Linked DNA regions of Homo sapiens: region 1 is linked to region 2. The links are contacts of gene promoters, found by promoter capture Hi-C in blood cells and fetal thymus (Javierre and others, 2016). All regions are on one chromosome and are shown on one strand. Each heading gives the region's core, a stretch centred on a gene start or on the middle of the fragment in contact. The rest is flanking DNA. Distances are from core to core; before and after follow the strand shown. Region 1 overlaps DENND4B (DENN domain containing 4B). Region 2 holds the start of NPR1 (natriuretic peptide receptor 1).

Region 1 (4,177 bases), core at 1,337-3,836, 260 kb before region 2:
GGATCCTGGAGGTGTGAGAACACTGGATTTTGGGCCAGATTGGTGGAGTTAAGCTAGGAGAAAGGACACTTGGGTTCGTTGAAAAGACTCTTAAAGCTTGGGTTTTGTGGGCTTTCTCAGAAACCCATGGGGTCCTCTTAAAAACCTAGGAGTGGGCTCTTTAAGAACATTGGCAGGATCACAAGGTTCTTATGGTGTCATAACTAGAGTAGGAAGGTCAGAAACCCTTGAAAAGACTGTAAGGTTGGTATGATGTCATGGCCAGCATGAATGATGTCATGGAAGGCTATTACAAAAAAGATTGTGATCTCTGTGATGTTATAACTGGTGAGCCTTTAAAAGGGACACATGGACAATGTGAATGTCATAGCTCAGGTTAGCTGTGTGTGGTGGAGTTTAGGTTCTTTGAGGGGAGTGCCAGGACCATTAAGTGGGAGGGATCTGGTCTCTTTAAGAAGCTGTGGTGGGCAGTGATGTCACAGGGGGAAGAGTTCAGGATTGGCCGACCCCTTATCCTGCCTTTCTTTGGAAGGACTAGGAAGAGGAGGGGAGCAAGAGGGTACCCTGGTTGCCATGGCATCCCCAGCCTTCCTTGCTTCATCTCTCTCCCACTTGACCATTCCAGATGCAGTGAGTGAGGGGGGGGCCATGGCGGAGGAGCGGCCCCCCCGGCTGGTGGATTACTTCGTGGTAGCTGGGCTTGCAGGGAACGGAGCACCCATCCCTGAGGAAACGTGGGTTCCTGAACCCAGTGGGCCCCTGCGCCCTCCCCGGCCAGCTGAGCCCATCACAGATGTGGCAGTCATCGCTAGGGCACTGGGCGAGGAAGTGCCCCAGGGCTACACATGCATCCAGGCTTCTGCTGGGGGCCACCCCTTGGAACTCAGTGCTGGACTTCTGGGTGGAACTCAACCCGTCATCTGCTACCGCAGGGGCCGTGACAAGCCCCCCCTCGTTGAGCTGGGGTGTGTGCCCCTACCCATGCTGGCACCAGGGGAGGCTGGGAGGGACTCCAGTGAGACAGGGAGAGGTAGGACTATGGAACAAGGGAAGGGCAATGGGGATGGGAGCCTGGTGGGCCAGGGGCCAGGAAGGAAGGACTGAAGTTGTATGTACTTAGTCCTTACAGATGCGATTTCATGTGCTAGTGCTGCTCCTTGCTAGCTCTGAGAGCTTAGGCAGGTTTTTGAGCTCCTCTGGGCCTGTTTTCCTCATCTGTCAAATGGGGAAAATAATTCATCCTCATAGGATGGTCGAGATTAAATGAGATAACCCATGTGACAGACTTAACAGAGTCAGTCAGTGGTAGCTTGTATAACTATTTTTTTTTTTTTTTTTTTTTTTATAGACAGAGTCTCTCTCTGTCACTCAGGCTGGAGTGCAGTGGTGTGATCTTGGCTCACTGCAACCTTCGCCTCCTGGGTTCAGGCAATTCTCCTGCCTCAGCTTCCTGAGTAGCTGAGACTATAGGCATGTGCCACCACGTCCAGCTAATTTTTGAATTTTTAGTAGAGATGGGGTTTGACCATGTTGGCCAGGCTGGTCCTGAACCCCTGACCTCAGGTGATCCACCTGCCTTGGCCTCCCAAAGTGCTGGGATTATAGGCATGAGCCACCGTGCCCAGCTGACCCTTAGTGTTTATTAATGAGTATGAGAGCCATAGAAGGCATGCAGGATTGTTGCTGACCATGAAATAAGGCCAAAGGCCAAAGAAAGGGCACAGGATTCTGGAGGGCAGAGTTCAGCAAGAAGAGGTGGGCCCTAGTGTTAGAGTTTGACAAGGCTGTGGGTACAAGGCAAGTTCAGGGGATTAGATAGGCAGATCTGGCAGGATTGGGTCTTTGTCCTCTACCCTGACCTCTCAACATCTATCTTTGCTCTCTGTGCCAAGGGTGTTGTATGAGGGGAAGGAACGTCCCAAGCCTGGCTTCCAAGTGCTTGACACGACACCCTACAGCCACTCAGCAAACCTGGCCCCTCCAGGCCCCGGGCACCCCCGCACCTACCTCACTTACCGGCGGGCAGCAGAGGGGGCAGGGCTGCATGCCCTGGGCATCACTGACCTCTGCCTGGTGCTGCCCAGTAAGGGCGAGGGCACTCCTCATACTTACTGCCGGCTGCCCCGCAACCTCAACCCTGGCATGGTGAGTGGGGCCAAGAGCTGACACCTGGTCCTCTTGGTGTAAGAGTGGGTGTGGACACTGGGAACAAAGGGCATCCCAGGACCAAGGCTCTGACCACAGGGGTGAGTCCAGAGGGGTAACTCTGGTCTTGGGGCACTGGGATTAATGGGAGCTTTAAAGACAAAAGAACATTTAGGGGTGGTAGAGAGAAAGTGGACCCCAGAAACCTTTGTTAGCTATGTATCTGCTTGTCTCTTGCCATTTCTGGGGTAGTGGGGCCCAGCAGTGTACCTGTGCTATAAGGTGGGCCTGGCGAAGGCCAACACGCTGGTGTACGAGGCAGGTGAGTGGCCCCTTTATCCCTCCAATCCTGTGACCCTACATCCCTTTGCCCTGGTGCCTCTTGGCAGGCACCTTAAGTGTCCCCAGAGTTTACTTTCTCTTTGCTACTCGGGCCTTCTCTGGGATCCCTTGGTTCATTTCCCTTGGAGTCTGATGGACCCTGCTCCTTTTGGGTACCCCCAACTATGCTGGGGGTGCAGAGCTGCTGGGCCGCTACCCGGAGGAGGACAATGAGGCGTTCCCGCTGCCCGAGTCAGTGCCCGTCTTCTGCCTGCCCATGGGGGCCACTATCGAGTGCTGGCCTGCCCAGACCAAGTACCCCGTGCCCGTCTTCTCCACCTTTGTGCTCACGGGTGCAGCTGGTGATAAGGTGGGTGTGTGGAGTGTGGCAAGGGGTCCAGGCTATGCAGGGCCTGCCTGACTACCCTTCTGCCCCCTGCCAGGTGTATGGTGCCGCCCTGCAGTTCTACGAGGCGTTCCCAAGGGCCAGGCTATCAGAGCGACAGGCACGGGCACTGGGCCTGCTGAGCGCCGTGGAGCGGGGTCGGGCACTGGGGGGCAGAGCTGTGCGCAGCCGGCGTGCCATCGCTGTGCTGTCCCGCTGGCCTGCCTTCCCTGCCTTCCGCGCCTTCCTCACCTTCCTTTACCGCTACTCCGTCTCAGGCCCCCACCGCCTACCCTTGGAAGCGTGAGCATGGCTCCTCTGCCATTGGGAAGGGGTTAGGAAGGGATAAGGGGGCCAGGAGAGATGGGAGAGATTCAGATGTGGGTGGGGGGAGGGCTGGGCACAGGGTAAGGGACAGGGCTGCAGTGTGTGGTTATACAGTTTATCCACTGTAAAAACGCCACGGGCTGAGGAGGGGAGCAGGGCCTGAAATCCAGTCTAAACTTACTAGTTAGGTCCTGGCAAAGGGCTGTGTATGCCCAGGGAGGATTTCTTTTCTGATCTGCACAAATTATATGCATAATGGAGGTTCTGTTGGCTGATAACAGGTCTCAAAGTGGGGTTCAGGAAGGAATAAGGTTCTTGAGAACAAGTGAAAGAGCTGAGAAAATGTGGAGGGAGGACAGGGATGGACGGGGGAGTATGCTCTGACCTGTTTCTCTGTCCCCCAGGCACATCTCCCACTTCATTCACAACGTTCCCTTCCCTTCCCCACAGAGACCCCGCATCCTAGTGCAGGTGAGAGCTGAGGCTGGGGCCGGGCTGATGGAAGGAGGGGAGTTGGCATCATTACCCTGAGCCGTGGCTCTTCTTCCCTTCCAGATGTCTCCCTATGACAACTTGCTCCTCTGTCAGCCTGTATCCTCACCCCTGCCCCTCAGGTATGTGATCAGATTGTGGGGAGGGGAGCTTTAATGACCAAGGACATGGTAGGTGCTGGGCAGGTGGGTGCAGCTGTTGAGGTTTATGCAGGCTGGGTCCAGGTGGTGGCTGTGCCTGGCATCTGGGGAAGGGTCCCCAGGGTATCCTGGTGACCCTTTCCCCACCTCGGCATTGCCTGCAGTGGTGCCAGCTTCCTGCAGCTGCTGCAGAGCCTGGGCCCTGAGCTGGCTATCACACTGCTGCTGGCTGTGCTCACAGAGCACAAGCTGCTAGTCCACTCGCTGCGGCCAGACCTGCTCACCAGCGTCTGTGAGGCCCTCGTCTCGGTGAGTGCCGCCCCGCCTGGCCCATCTTCCCCAGAACCATGGTTCTTTCTGGTGCCCC
Region 2 (4,600 bases), core at 986-3,485:
GCTGGTGGCGAAGCGCCCCTGGGCAGTCCCCTGCCCTTCATTGCCTAATTCCCAGTGAGCATCACCAACCTCTTTTCTGTTCTGTGAGTTACCAGGAGTGCATAAAGAAACAAACAGACAAAAACCTCTTTTCTGGAATTCTTTCAGACGCTGAGGGACACAGTGCCCAGAAATGATGTGCCACAAGCTGAGACAGCCTGGGCTTCAAACCTAGGTACTCACCTGAAAGGCCTGGCGGGCACTGACATCCTGCCCATCCCCTCTCTCCCAGGGCCTGCGGGGAGCAGGGCCCTGTCCACCTTGCAGGCTTTGCCCAAAGATATCCAGGTGGAAGAAAACGTAGTCCTCCCCACACAAGCCAGCTTCCAGGGCCAGGAGCATGAGGGTTCTGAAGGCATCAGGGGAGCTGCAGATGTAGATAACTGGAGAAAGACGGAGAGTCAGAGAGAGAAGCCTAGGTACTGCGGGAGAGACAGGAGTAGGAAAGCTGGGGCACCCAAGGGAGGAAGTTTAGAGATAGGGTGCAGGAGAGACCCAGTGAGAGTTAAGTGGTAACTCCCGGCTCAGCCTAGGCCACAGCAGGAGAAAGTCGAAGGGTGGAACGGGCGGGTGCGGGGCGGTGGGCGGGAGGAGGAAGGGGGAGGCGGAAGGGAGGAAGGAACGGGTAGGGAGAGGGGGATAGTGGAGCTGAAGGTGGAGAAGGATGGGGCCAGGAGGGAGAGAGGAGGGAGAGGGAGGGGGAGAAGAGAGGGGATGAGGCGCAATGAGAGGAGAGGATGAAAGAAGGGAGAAGGCTATAGGGAAGAGAGAAAATGTGGGAGGGAAAAAGGGACCGGAACCGAGCTGTGCTAGGGTGGGAGGGAATGAGTGGGGGTCGGGGAGATGAGAGGATAGAGACGTGGTGGGGGTGGCGGAAGAAGAGAGGGAAATAGAAACTCAGCTGTAGAAAGGGCCAGGGAGCTGAAAGTAGAATGAAGAACGGCGAGGAGAAAGAAGAGTGCCCCCAGATGAGAGAGAAAGTCCCGATGCCTCCGGCAGGTCAGAGGGGAGGCCCTGCGGCTAAGCGGCGGGACGGGGTGTGCCAGCGTCTCACCTCGGCCTTTGCGCGGCATGGTCCGCAGCAGCCTGGTGTAGTGGCTGAGGTCGTCCTCGGCGAACTCCAGGTGGTCCACCGTAATATTGAGGCGGTCGCGGACCCGCATGAACAGCCCCTCCACGAGGAAGAAGCAGTGCTCTTCGTCACCCGGCCGGTAGGCGTAGAGCATGAGCGCTTGGCGCTCCCAGCCCAGCCGTCGGTGCAGCGCCGCCACGAAGTCCCCCAGCTTGGCGTAGCTGGGCCCCGCGCGGGTGGTCAGCGCATACTCGTCCTTGACACCGAAGCCCAGCGCCGGGGCGCCGGCGGTCAGCAGCGGGACCCGCCAGTGCGCGGTGAAGCGCCCCACTGGGGCGGCGGCGTACACGCAGCCGGGGCCCAGGAACACAGCGGGGTTGTGCTCCCACTTGAGGTCCACCGCGGCCAGGGGCGCTGCGGTGTCGGAGCAGACGCCCAGCGCGTTTTCGCTGCTGCCCAGCACCGTGCGGACCGTCCAGCCCGGCAGCAAGTCGGGGCGCGCCTTCACCTGGGCCAGGGCCAGCTCCACGGCGGGTCCCACGCGCGCCCACGACCAGGGGTACGAGGTATTGGCCAGCGGCAGTACCACGGCTACCGTCAGGTTGCCCGCGTGGCTGCCCCGGAGCAGCAGCAGCAGCGGCGGCAGCAGCAGGAGCAGGAGCAGGCGCAGGCGGGAGCCAGCGGGGCGCCGGGGCCCCGGCATGGCCTCAGCGGGCACCGCAGCAGGCGAGCGCTCCTACCATGGCCTCCTCGGTCCCCTTGGGCTCAGCGGCCGGTCCCAGGCATCAGGCGCGTCCCTATGGGAAGGAGCAGGAGCGGGACGGGGACGCTCACCCCGGGGCTCGAGGCCCCCTGTAGCTGCGACGGTCTGGGCCGAGAGCGCAAGGGGCGCGACCGAGGGGGGCGCGCAGGGCGCCGCGGAGCAGGTGGGTGCCAGGAGAACGTCGGGCTGGAGAGGACCCGAGTGTGAACAACTGGGAGTGTGCGTGCGTGTTAGAGAGAGAGAGAGAGAGAGAGAAAGGGTGCGAGTGAGCGCTTCGTGAAGAAGGATGAGAGAGGGCGCGCGAGGGAGGAAAGAGGAGTGTGTGTTTGTAGCGTGCGTGAGCGCCTGCCCCAGGGAGTGTGCCAGAAGGGGCGTCCGGCCGGCCCAAGTCTCCGGCTATCCGGAGGGAACCGTGGAGGACCCGAGCCAAGCTCCGAACCCTCCCTCCCAGCCGCTTCCCCTCCCAGACTCAGTGACAGAAGAGCCAATCCAGGATCTTTAACTCCTTCCTCCCCGCCGCCCAGCCCGCGCGCTTCCCCGTGGACCATCTTCCCCGGTCTCGGCCGCCCCACGCCTACCTCTTTGGAGGACAGGACCCTCTGAAGGTGCGCCCTCGCCGGGATGGAAAGGACGGCTGAACGGAGGGTGTGTGTGGAAGCAACCGGGGCCCACTTGCGCCCCACCTTTTCCCTCGCCTCCTACCTGGTCTCCTCGGGGGAAGAGGGAAAGGTGTGCTGGTTTGGGATCCTGGCAGGAAACTGAGTGAGTGCGTGGATGTGTGTGTTTGGGTGTGGGGTGGAAGGTGACGGGTTTCTGGAAAGTCCGTTAAAGTTGAAGGTGAGCCCAGAGTGCTTGTTACCCATTCCTTCTATGATCTCCCTCTCTTTCCCTCCCTGCCACCTTCCAGACTGTGCAGATTAGCTGTGAAAAAATGATCTGGTGTCAGAGAGGAATTAAATCTTTAGCGCCCAAATTGTAGGAAGATGGGGAGAGTGGGTGGGTGTCTGGGAGGGAGGAGGTTCACACCTCAGGGACGCCCCAAGAAAATGACTGTTTTGTGTTGAGGGTTGTTAAAATGAAGGCTGTGGGAGATGACCACTGGAGGCGTAAATTGGGGAGTGGGTTTTGGAGCACTTGACAGCTGGGCCCCCGGTGCAGACTGCTGTGGAATCAGTGTGCCCTCTAATGGTCATCGGGGGTTATTGACGGCATTGCAGCGCCAACCTCTCCAACGCTGCGCCTAAGCAGGACATAAGATCACCAAACTTCAGGTCAGCAAACATTTCCAGAGAACCTTCGGTGCATTAAGCACCCACTAGGTGCCGAGGGCATAAAGATGAATATATATAGTCCGTGCCTTTGAGGAGCTCCATTTGGGACAAATAACCGTAATGCAACATGCATTAAGCACTACAGGGGAGACATGGATAAATTGCTAAAGGACTCAGATGAGGGCTATTCATTCTGCTTGGATTGGGGCCAGAAAATCTCCAAAAAAGAAATAATTCAAGAGGATGGAAGGATGAGAAAGGTATTCTGTGTAGACAGAGCAGAATGTTGAAGTACATTTCCTATATATGGAATTTTAGGAGACTTGAATATTCTTATTATCTAGAGCAAATTGTGGTCGATAGGCCAACTTGAGATGGCAGGCATGCTTTGGCTTGCATTCTCTTTATGTATATTGTATTTAATTCCCCACACTTAAATATCATAAGATGGGGCCGGGCAAGGTGGCTCAAGCCTCTAATCCCAGCACTTTGGGAGGTCAGGGTGGGTGGATCATGAGGTCAGGAGTTCAAGATCAGCCTGGCCAAGATGGTGAAACCCCGTCTCTACTAAAAATACAAAAATTAGCCAGACATGGTGGCGGCCGCCTGTAATCCCAGCTACTTGGGAGGCTGAGGTAGAGAATTGCTTGAATCCGGGAGACAGAGGTTGCAACGAGCCGAGATTGCGCCACTGCACTCCAGCCTGGGCAACAGAGCAAGACTCCGTCTCAAAAAAAAAAAAAAAAAAAAGATGGTACATGAATATTTGGATTTCTGACTTTTTTTTTTTTTTCCTTCAAAGATGGAGGTCTCCCTATGTTGCCCAGGCTGGTCTTGAACTCCTAGGCTCAAGCGATCCTCTTGCATTGGCCTCCCAAAATTCCTGGATAACATGTGTGAGCCACCAGGCCCAACCTGGATTTCTGACTTTCCTTAAAATATTGGAAGAGCTGGCAATATATTGTCCTGCATCCCTCCATGAGCAATTAACCAGAGCAAGTATCCATTATCTCCTTGAAATGAGTCTAGTTCATTATGGTTCCTAGGCACCCTGCTTCACTCAGGTGCATTACCTGCCTGGCTGTAGTAGGAGTTTGTGTTTTCAGCCCTGATCTAGGATGTAAGGTGTGTGCATGTAGGATGACTGAGGAAGAGAGGCAGGGAAGAGGGCAGTGGAGGGAAGATTATGAAAGCTTTTGTGTGACAGGCATAATGTTCTTGTCCTGTAATGGAGATGGCGGATTCCAGAGATTGTAGAGGTAGACAGCAGATGCAGATGGGGAGATGTTTTGTAAGTAGAATCAGTTGAACTTTGGGAAGTGAGGACATTATACAAATAACAGATCTAGGTGATGTTGATCCCATTAGCTGAGAAGCTGAAGAAGGTTTTGGAAGGATGATACTTTTAGTTTATTGGATGTGAGGTGCCTATAGATAATCAAGTGGAAGTGTCTG

Evidence for each region. Contacts are between HindIII fragments. The CHiCAGO score rates a contact against its expected background, and 5 or more counts as called.
Region 1: a contact is called between a fragment that was not itself captured here and the fragment with the promoter of NPR1 in region 2, in 16 of 17 cell types (M2 macrophages, M0 macrophages, endothelial precursors and 13 more). The highest score is 18.1, in M2 macrophages.

The regions. Positions count from the first base shown.
Region 1 is chr1:153,940,846-153,945,022 of GRCh38, reverse strand. DENND4B (DENN domain containing 4B) reads left to right here. Exons shown (of 28, transcript NM_014856.3): 2 at 626-965; 3 at 1,893-2,145; 4 at 2,398-2,467; 5 at 2,667-2,836; 6 at 2,910-3,154; 7 at 3,583-3,649; 8 at 3,734-3,792; 9 at 3,975-4,119. The coding sequence starts at 649. Among named protein-coding and RNA genes, the nearest start is that of DENND4B, 3.8 kb to the left of the region's middle. RefSeq lists an enhancer at 1-53. The HindIII fragment of the contact is 4,975 bases long and covers 99-4,177 here.
Region 2 is chr1:153,676,323-153,680,922 of GRCh38, reverse strand. NPR1 (natriuretic peptide receptor 1) reads right to left here and starts at 2,235. Exons shown (of 22, transcript NM_000906.4): 1 at 1,094-2,235; 2 at 223-422. The coding sequence starts at 1,814. RefSeq lists a silencer at 1,435-1,494 and enhancers at 1,036-2,016, 2,017-2,998. The HindIII fragment of the contact is 5,247 bases long and covers 1-4,340 here.